2 separate regions of the Homo sapiens genome follow, and region 1 is linked to region 2. Evidence: promoter capture Hi-C in human tissues and cell types (Jung and others, 2019). All regions are on one chromosome and are shown on one strand. Each heading gives the region's core, a stretch centred on a gene start or on the middle of the fragment in contact. The rest is flanking DNA. Distances are from core to core; before and after follow the strand shown.

Region 1 (4,783 bases), core at 1,642-4,141, 87 kb before region 2:
AGGTCACAAAAGGTCACAAAAAAAGACTCTAGGCTTAAATCCCATCCTGTAATGCTGGGCAAGTTACTCTAGGCCTGTTTCCTCATCTATGAAATGGGGTACTTATATCTGTCTTACATATAGCTGTGGTGAGGATTAAATAATGTAATGCAGGCACAACACACTGGACTAGGCTGAGCTTGGACACAGGCAGTGGCAGAACCCACACTAGAACCCAGTGCTTTAGACTTTTCCGGGTGGGCCACACAGGTGGAGGGAGGGCTGCGCTGATTAGCCGTGGATAGCACGAGGGCACTTGGGAAAAGAGGACAAGACATGTAAACTGTATTCTGGGACCTTCTGAGGCAGAGGCCAGATATCACATGTGGGCTGGAGCATTTGGGTTGGGAAGCACAGGATGATCTAGATGAGTGATTCCCAAATTGGGATTCCTGGATGACTAAGCAGGATCCCTGAATCTAGTTAATCAGGACGCACAAGCTGGATTCAATATCTGAAGAAGCCGAAAAGGAAACAGCACATAATATATACCTTCAGGAGGGCAAAACATGCTATTATTTAATATCATGTTACCATGTTTCCCAAATTCTAAAATGCAGTCAGTTGTTAAGATGACCCATTTCCCCCACAACGAATTTACACATTGATTACGTGTGCGTCTCAAGTACAGATTGTAAAAGTGTGCATTTTAGAATAAAACAAACGAATGCCATTTATTTGGAAGACAGTATCTTGTAAAACATGCACAAAATGAACTCTTAGTGGTGGGAAAATTATAGACCCTTCCCACCTGGGGTCCTCTGAATACCAGAAGGCAGGGGGAACATCCAATGTCTGCAGCCTTTTCAAATCTGCTAAGGGCAGAGCTGTCAAAGGGACAAGGACTCCTTGCCTTGACACAGCAGGCTGTGGCTCCCTGAGGAACCTCTCTGAAGCACCTCCTCTGAAGGACCTCTCCCAGAGAAGGGAAGGCACAGCAGTGACAGAAGGACCCTGTGGGGCTCTTTGCTGAGAAAACTGGTGAGCTTTTCAGGCACAGGAGGGTCACTGGCTGCGGATGACTGAGATCCACACCTGAGTTCCTTGCAGGGGGCTGGCCAGCAGGATGAAGGAGAGGCCAAGCCAGGGGACCCTCCAGCCTTGCCCTCAGCGTCACTGCAAAATGCTCTTGCTGGGTCTGGGTTGAAAGGTTTGGAGAGCTTACTGGATTTTAAGCATCTGTGTTGACCAGCTCCCGTTAAGGCATCTGGCAGGGAGGGGGCTCCTCCCATGCTGGCAGCCATTACCATACAGCTGACTTTCATGCTGTCTCTCAGGACACAGGCAAAGAGAACGGCCCTTCTGACTCACCCACAATCCCCAGCTAAAGTGTACATAAGCTGAATTGTAAACAGCTGAATGTGCTCCAAGCTGCCACCCCCAGCTATGCAGGAAGGAATCAATGGAGCGAACAGCCACCCTCCCCCCACCCCATGCAGTTCAGGACAACGGGAGCAGTGGGGGATTTCCAAACAGCTGCTTGAACGCTTCCCAGCCCACAGGCTGAGGACTGCAAGAGGGGCCTGAGCTCAAACTCAGCAGCAGCACCTGCAGGACCAGAGTGACTTCCACCAGGTCAACACACCAGGGAATAATAGCTGGCCCTGGCTGCAGGGAGTCAGGGAGGAGTTTTCAAAGAGTTCTACTTAACCCTGGTGATGGAGGCCAGTCCACTGGTATCCAATGCCAGGGTCAAGGGCTCCCAGATAGTCTCACATCATAGTGCTCCGGCCCATGCTATGATTTCAAAACGCAAAATGTCTAGAACCAATGGGAGAGGTTCTACAGTAGACACTAAGATCAGGGGAGATAAAAGGAAGAATGGCAGAGTAGAAAGAGCATGGGCTCTGGGGGCCAGACCTGGACTCATATTCTGTTCCACCTTTAATCAAAGGTGTGTGGCTTCAAGCACTCACTGCCTGTTCTGAGTCTTGGTTTCTCCATCTGTAACAACGAGGCTCATACTACCTACCTGTCTGGGAGGTTTCAGTAAATATTATATATGTAAAATGCCTGGCACTGAATACACGCAGAAGCTGTGCTACATGGCAGTTAAGACTGTGGGATTAGAAAGACTCTAGGCGGCCAGGTACAGTGGCTCATGCCTGTAATCCTAGCACTTTGGGAGGCTGAGGTGGGTGGATCACGACGTCAAGAGATTGAGACCATCCTGGTCAACATGGTGAAACCCTGTCTCTAGTAAAAATACAAAAAAAAAAATAAATAACTGGGTGTGGTGGCGAGCGCCTGTAGTCCCCGCTACTCGGGAGGCTGAGGCAGGAGAATTGCTTGAACCCTGGAGGCAGAGGTTGCAGTGAGCCGAGATTGCACCACTGCACTCCATCCTGGCAACAGAGCAAGACTCTGTCTCAAAAAAAAAAAAAAAAAAAAAAAGACTCTAGGCTTAAATCCTATCCTGTAATGCTGGACAAGTTACTCTAGGCCTCTTTCCTCATCTATGAAATGGGATACTTATATCTGTCTTACATATAGCTGTGGTGAGGATTAAATAATGTAATGCAGGCACAACACACTGGACTAGGCTGAGCTTGGACACAGGAGTGCCAACGTCACTGAGACCTGTGAGAAGATTAGGAAATCATTCTAATCTCACTCTTTCACTGAGTCTGGCCTCTTACAGCCCCAGAGCAGGGCTAATCTTTCCGTGGCCCAAACTGAGGTATCTGAGGTTTGTGTTCCTCAGACGTCTTGGTCTACGTCGGTAGTCCTGTCCTTGCACTGTTGAGGTCAGGCTTCAGGAAGAAATGTTACCTCCACTGTGACTGCAACATAACAGAAATGCTTCTGTCCTAAAGGGCAAAGCAAAGTCTCAAGTCACCTTCAATGGCTATTAATCTAAAGGACAAGAAGACAAGCACCAGATTCTCTTTCTATGCAGTTTTTTCATAAAGGGGGGTTTTAAGCAGACAGTGCAGAAGAACCCTAGAAACCAAAAGAAAGGTTAACTTTAAGACAAATAAAAGGAAGCACTGCTTTACTTAGAAAATACTAAATTTATGTAACTTGTAATGCCAGATGATTTAGCTTATGAAAAGAAATTAGTTTAAAAGGCTAAAAATAAACCCAGTTTAAGATAAACTCATGGAAGATGGATTTCTACCGGTTTACAAAAGAAATCTAGAAATGTTTAGTAAACTCTCCAATTATTTTCAGGTTGATAACAGGGAAAGGCAGCCATGTTCCCCAATATGATGACTATTTTTTTGGTTATCAACTGCAGCATCACTAATATTGTTAGATAAATGTCAGGGGAGACTGGGAGGAGGGAACACTAAGCCTCAGTTGTCCTGTCTATATTATGGACTACATACTACATACCTTGCAAATCAGTTCTATTGATCATTTCTGCTCATGGAAACATTACTCCTTTCCTCCTTATAACCATTGTCTAAGCTTCCAGTCAACCCTATTTTGCCACCAGTCAACTGATAGAACAGATTAATACTGATTACTGGAGGCCTCAAAATATGGATTTAATCAAATTTTTTTATTTTTTATTTTTTGAGATGAGGCCTCGCTCTGTCACCCAGGCTGGAGTGCAGTGGCACGATCATGGCTCACTGAAGCCTCGACTGTCCACACTTAAGCGATCCTCCCACCTCGGTCTCCTGAGCAACTGAGACCACAGGCGTGTGCCACTATGCCCAGGTAATTTTTTTTTTTAATTATCTGTAGAGGCGAGGTCTTGTTATATTGCTCAGGCTGGTCTCGAACTCCTGCGCTCAAGTGATCCTCCTGCCTCGGCCCCCCAGGCATGAGCCACCGTGCCTGGTCCCAATTTTTTTTTTTAAAGTAGTTGCTTCATATTAGTTTTGTTTTAATTTAAAGTGTCATTTGCTTTGATTGTTCAAAAATGTCTTAATATAGCTGTGTGGCTTTAGGTCACATATGGATGGTTTCAAATATGCTAAAGATACCAGTAACTAGGGATAATTATATAGTATTTGAGACATAACAGCCATGCAACTAGAGTTTTAAAAATAACTCAAGCAGTCACGAACTTTCATTTTCTTGCCAACAGTTCCAATATTCAGTATCAGGCCTGGTCCTCCTAATCTACTGGAGAAGAGTTGGTTATGGCATGGCATCTAATAGTCATCTCTTCTTAATACAAATGATAATAAATTTCACTGCTAAGACGACAATCATCTGAAAAAAACAGACATTTGCTTATGTTTTAAAGTCATAATAGCAAACTGGGGCTCTCTTCAACATCTGGATTCATCTCAGAGCACTGGCAATCTGTGTTTAACAGCAGTCATGTCTTTACCAGATGTAGAAAGAATGTTCTCTTCTTTTGGACTTACCTAAATATCATTTGGAAATTGGAAGAACAGGAAAGCATATCCTTTTTCACTAACTATAAAAATAATTTGGAAGGAGAAGGAAACAAAAAAAACCTTGAAGTTTTCTATGCTGGTCTACATGGTCTTACAATGAATCTCAGAGCAACGGTTTATGACTTAAATTATATGCTGTGTTCCTTAGCATACTTTTTCTTCAAAAACTAGTAATTCTAAATTGTATAATTCTTGACTATGATAAAAGAGCCCATTTCTTGACCATGTCATTTATACTGGACTTTTGTTACTGATGGGGAAAAATCCAGAATTTGTAATAATTATGTCTTGGATATGCAAATGGTTGATTATTTTCCTAACAATTCCCAAAATATCCACATCATAAAGCAGAATTAAAGATGGTTTGCCTCTCAATACCTTTA
Region 2 (5,423 bases), core at 795-3,294:
CTAGTTATGGTCATGTATTCTCTTTTTGTATGATTTAGATTTGCCCCTCTCAGATGCTGCCTCTAGTGCCAAACATTATGCCCAGTTTCAGGCCCTCTCCCTTGGAGCAACTGAAAACTACTCCTATTCAACCTCCACATGATGGACCCTTACTTGGGAAGATATGGGTGACAAAGACCAGGAATGAGGCTCAGAAAAACTGATGAGGGGAAAATATGGGGGAGAAAACAATAAGAAAAATATCACTGGACAACTGTGCTGGGAATAAGAAATTCTAGGCTACTTTTAGAAAGTTACATTACAGAGGAAGGAAAAAAAGCCATAGTTACAATAGAAAGCCATTCCCTAGAGATAACATATTCTTTATGTGGCTGCATTCGCTGTTCCCCCGCTTTGGCTGCCTTTTCAGTCCTTTCCAATTTTCTCTGCAAGGTAAACTCCTATTTATCCTTCAACACCTTGCTTAAATGTGTTCTCTGGAAAGCCTTCCCTGGTCCTCTCAGACAGCTAATTGTTCCCTCCTCTGTGCTTCCAAAGCCCTTTGCATTCACATCTATTATGCTGTTAATCACTTTTACTAGCAATTTCATTTGTTTCTCCTACCACTTCTTTCAGGACAAGGACTAATTATCTTATTCATCTTTGCATCCCCAAGACATAGCAGAGTGCCTGGCATATGCCAAGTATTTGTTGTTGGGTGATAAAAGACATCAAGAGCAACGTGGAAGTGGAATTTGCACTTCACTTGCAAAATCAAATTGGTTTCTGGTACTTTTCAATTGTAACCGCATTTTCTCTTGATTTAGAAGGAACGACTTTAGACTCACAAAAGAAACTCTATTGATATCACGGGCGCATTAGCCGATTTTTCATCCCCACTGGTGATAGAAATATTTTTTACCCCACACTTCCAAGAAACTCCCAGGGCAAGCTTAGTATCAGTGGCGCATCTCTCCTCCTACCATTTCTATTGTCGCAAAAGCTAAATTACACTGTGAGCCTAAAGCTGCCACCAGTCTTAGTGAATTGGGGGAGGGGGATAATTACAAGAAGACACTTCTGTAGCAGACCTGGGGAGGGGGGAAGATGAATTTAAACCTCGCCTTATAAGAAATTTGTTAGACACTCACGTAGAACAGCCGCTTCCTCCGTGTATGACAGACCCGATCCAGGTGTCCAGCAGCGACCTTTTCCCATGGGTGTCAGGTCATCACTCAGCACAGAAAACAAGGGACCAGCGCCTTTCTAGGGCATCCCTCCTTCTCCAACCTTGGGGCCCGCTTTTCCTTTAGACGACTGTTCTCTCCTCCCAGTTCCAGCAACCCCCGGTTCCCTCTGCTGGTGCCCCCCACGCCACGCTTGACTCTGGGCCGAAAGTGCCAGCGGCTGCGCTGTCACGCCGCGGCTGGGGAGCGGGCGCCCCGGTCAGGCCCGACGCCCGGGTCTCACCGCACTCTGCGGGACAAGCGGAGCAGGCGCAGGCCGCGCAAGACCACGGGCTGCCGCGGCGCGGGCCTCTCCGCAGGAGGGGGGTCGGTCCCCGGAGAAAGCGAGTCACTGACGGGACCTTGGCCCGTTCCCGTTCCGGTTCCCGTTCCCGGCAAGCCTCGGCCCCAGGCTCTCCGCAGCCCTCCTCGCTGCGCGTTCCCGGCCCGGGGGCGCCGCGCTCTGCCGGTCGCCGGCCGGGACTGCGGGCTCCCAGCGCGGGCCCCACGCCGCGGACCAGGGGTCAGGCCGCCTGCCGCCCGCCTGTCCGTGCCCATGGCAATGCCCCGCCCCGCGCGGCCCGTCCCGGCCGAGCGCTCCGGCCCGACCGTGACAGCTGGGTGCCCAAAGGGTTAAGCCGGCAGCGCGGCGGCCGGTGTCCCCCGCGCGCTGCCCGTCAGCCGCGAGCTGGCCCCAGCGCGCACGCGCCCGCCCGTTACCTGCGGTCGCCTCCGCGCTCCTCCTCCACCTGGCCGCTCTCTCCCGGGGGCCGCCCCTCAGCCCGCCCCCTCGGCTCGGCGCCGCGCACCCTGCTGGCTGCTCGGACGCTGCCCGCGGAGGAGGGGCGAGGGCGCTATTACCATATATTAGCATACCAGCGCGCGTCACGTGGCCGCTCCAGCCAATGGTCACCCTAGAAGGGCGGGGATTGGGCGGAACACGCCTTAGTGCTGCTCCCAGCCTGAACCGGTGGCCATGGCAACGGGCGGGTGGGCGGGGGAGTGGGGAGGTGCCGGAGCCCGGTGCCCCCGGGAGCATCTCCTCTACCTGAGCGCCACATGGCGACCACGCGCAGTTTTCCCACCTTGCGGATGGAGAGATTTGTCTCAGCCAGAGAGATCCAGATTCAGCCAACATTTATTGAGCACTTACCACGTGCCTTAACACTTTGCTGCAGAAAGTGATGTCTGTCCTATTAACCCCACTAGATAGTAGGGAAAGTGGAGGCTCAGAGAGGTTAGATCATTCGCTCAAGATCATACAACAACATTAAATGGCAAAAGTGGAGATCTAAGATCATTTTTGACTTCAGACCCGGGACAATCGCCAGTTTTTTCAAATCCAGCAGGGGTCTCCTAGCACCTCCTCACAATTTCAGGTGTGCTGTGCAGTTGAGAAAATCCTTGTACATAATTTGTACAGCGTTTTACTGTTTCCTTACAGTGACCTTTGAGATTAATAGGCAGAATAGTTATGCCTGTATTACAAAGGAGAGAAAATGAGGCTCAGAGAGGCCATGTGACATAATTTAGGTCAAACAGCTATTAAGAGCTAATGCTGAGTTACACTGATTTATACTGAAGCTCATTACTTTAGAAACTTTTAAATTCAGTCTTCTCAACATGGTGGAATTACTGTGACCATTCTATGGATTAAGAAACCGAGACTTTGGGAAGTTAAGCAAATTGCCCAACGTTATACAGCTAGTAAGTAGCAGATTTAGGGTTCAAATCCAGGTTTATCTGGCCCCCAAAGCTAGTCTCATTGTATCAGATTTATTTAATTTAGGATTGGACTTAGAATCCCTTCTCTAATAGAATTTTGTCTCCTCTCAAGATATGATGGTGTTACGTCTTAATCCCACAGCAAATATACCTTGTGACAAGTGACATGTGTTAAGGTCACAGAGGCTATATATTAAGAGAATAGAGTCACCAGGTAGGTAAGGGGCACTGTAGAATTCTCTGTCTTTCCTTTGTTTTTTGTTTTTTTTTGTTTGTCTGTTTTTTGTTTTTTGTTTTTTTTGAGTCCGATCTCGCTCTTGTCACCCAGACTGGAGTGCAATGGTGCGATCTTGGCTCACTGCAACCTCTGCCTGCTGGATTCAAGCTATTCTCCTGACTCAGCCTCCTGAGTAGCTGGGATTACAGGCATCTGCCACCACACCCGGCTAATTTTTGTACTTTTAGTAGAGACAGGGTTTCGCCTTGTTGGCCAGGCTGGTCTCGAACTCCTGACCTCAGGTGATCTGCCCGCCTTGGCCTCCCAAAGTGCTGGGATTACAGGCATAAGCCACCGCGTCCGGCTTATGCCTGTCTTTCCATTTTTACCTTAGGGATTTGATAGTTTAGCTAAAGGCACAGTAGTTTAAAAACACAAACATCTGTGTACAGACTTGTTTAGCTCAGTGATTCTCTAATTTTATTTATTTATTTATTTTTTAGAGACAGAATTATGCTCTGTCATCCAGGCTGGAGTGCAGTGGTGTGATCATAGCTCACTATAACATTGAACTCCTGGGTTCAAGTGATCCTCCTGCCTCAGCCTCCCGAGGAGTAGCTGTGACTACAGGCATGCACCCCAACACCCGGGTAATTGTTATGTTGCCCAGGTTTGTCTCGAACTTCTGGCCTCAAGCAATCTTCCTACTTGGGCTTCCCAAAACTCTGGGATTCACAGGTGTAAGCTACCACATCTGGCCATGGTTCTCTAACTTTAATATATTTATGGATTACTGGACAGGGCTCTGTGCCTCAAACTAAATGTGCTAAACTTTATAGACATTTAAAGGGATCATCAAAGGTAATTTTGAATATACGTACATTTCACCTTCCTAGACTGCTTTAAAACCCAATTTCCTCCTAAAACATGACTGGTGCTTAAGAGCACAAACATAGAAGCAGACCTGCTTGGGTTAAAAATCCTGACTTGGCCACTCATTGACTGTATGACCTTGGGAAAGTTACTTAAACTCTCTGTGCCTCAATTTCCTCATTTGTAAAATAGGATAGAAATGTTGTGAGAATTTAATGACTTACTGTATGTGTGTATATATATATACACACACTTAACTTCCCAAAGTCTCGGTTTCATATATATATATATATATAAACGTTTCATATATAGGCCCCGGCCCAAGGATAAACCCTCCATAATTGATAGCTAATGTCATTTTTGTTATTATCCCAGGAGTTTTCCTAGGAACAGACAACCCACATGTACACAATATCTCAAGGCTTCCTAGCTAGCTTTGGAATTCTGAAGCTGCCTTCCTTCCCTCGTGGCATATTAAACAGCCTGTTGTGCTGCTGAAGGCTTGTTATCTCTCCAAATGACATTCTCTCTTCTTGGGATCATAAATAATTCCTGCACTCAAAGGAACTGGTTTCTCTTGCACATCTCCTAGCACCAAATTACTGGAGTTGCTCCTTGCAGAAGGGGATCTTGACAAACAGTGGAGTCATAAGTCAGGCTCCTTGAAACACTTTTATGAGCGCCTTAATGAGGGAGATGAGCTGTCATCAGGAACTCATCCCATCCTTCCTGACCACAGGAAATGAGCTTTTTGTGCTCAAAAGGTTTCCAAAGCTGAGGCGCAAAGAGTTTTCAGGAAGTGGGCCAGGGATGAGAAGTTGTTGACTCAGAGAATCCCAGGGCTAAACAGCCCCCATCCTGCCATTCACCCTAGAGGGTCAAATGACTCATGGTCTTATTGCAGCAATAGCACCAAAGGGTGGTGTGTGTATGTGTGTGTGTGTGTTTGTGTGTGTGGTGTTAATCCTCCCCACTTCCCCATATGTGCACACTCCAACAGCCAACCTATTACCCCCTGACAAAAAGATACTGCAGAATAGAACACTGGTTAAGAGCATTGTCTCTGGAATCAAAGATCCAGATTTGAATCCTGCTTCTACTACTCAACTATCTATGTGATGTTAGGAAACTTGCTTAACCTCCCTGCATATCAATTTCCACATCTGTAAAATGGAAATAATAACAGTGTCCATTTTATAGACTCTTGTTAGGATGAAATGAGTTACTAACATAAACTGCTTAGAACACCCCATAGTATACACTAGAGATGTATTTGCTAATTAAACAAGAATAAATGTATAAATCCAGTACAAGCAACGTACTTTCTATAGAAGACACTGCAGCTTAAGTGAAGTTCCCTAGGCCCTCTCTGATGTGCTGCCTGCCCTCCAACCCCCTTCTGA

What was found. Contacts are between HindIII fragments. The study calls those that stand out against the background at their distance.
Region 1: a contact is called between a fragment that was not itself captured here and the fragment with the promoter of PHC2 in region 2, in 5 of the 25 tissues and cell types used here (IMR-90 fibroblasts, aorta, heart right ventricle and 2 more).

Annotation. Positions count from the first base shown.
Region 1 is chr1:33,341,059-33,345,841 of GRCh38, forward strand. The region is part of intron 9 of PHC2 (polyhomeotic homolog 2); the gene reads right to left. Among named protein-coding and RNA genes, the nearest start is that of PHC2-AS1, 6.9 kb to the right of the region's middle. RefSeq lists an enhancer at 1,172-1,780. The HindIII fragment of the contact is 8,646 bases long and covers 1-4,783 here.
Region 2 is chr1:33,429,051-33,434,473 of GRCh38, forward strand. PHC2 (polyhomeotic homolog 2) reads right to left here and starts at 2,045. Exons shown (of 15, transcript NM_001385109.1): 1 at 1,926-2,045. RefSeq lists a silencer at 1,729-2,248. The HindIII fragment of the contact is 10,287 bases long and covers 1-5,423 here.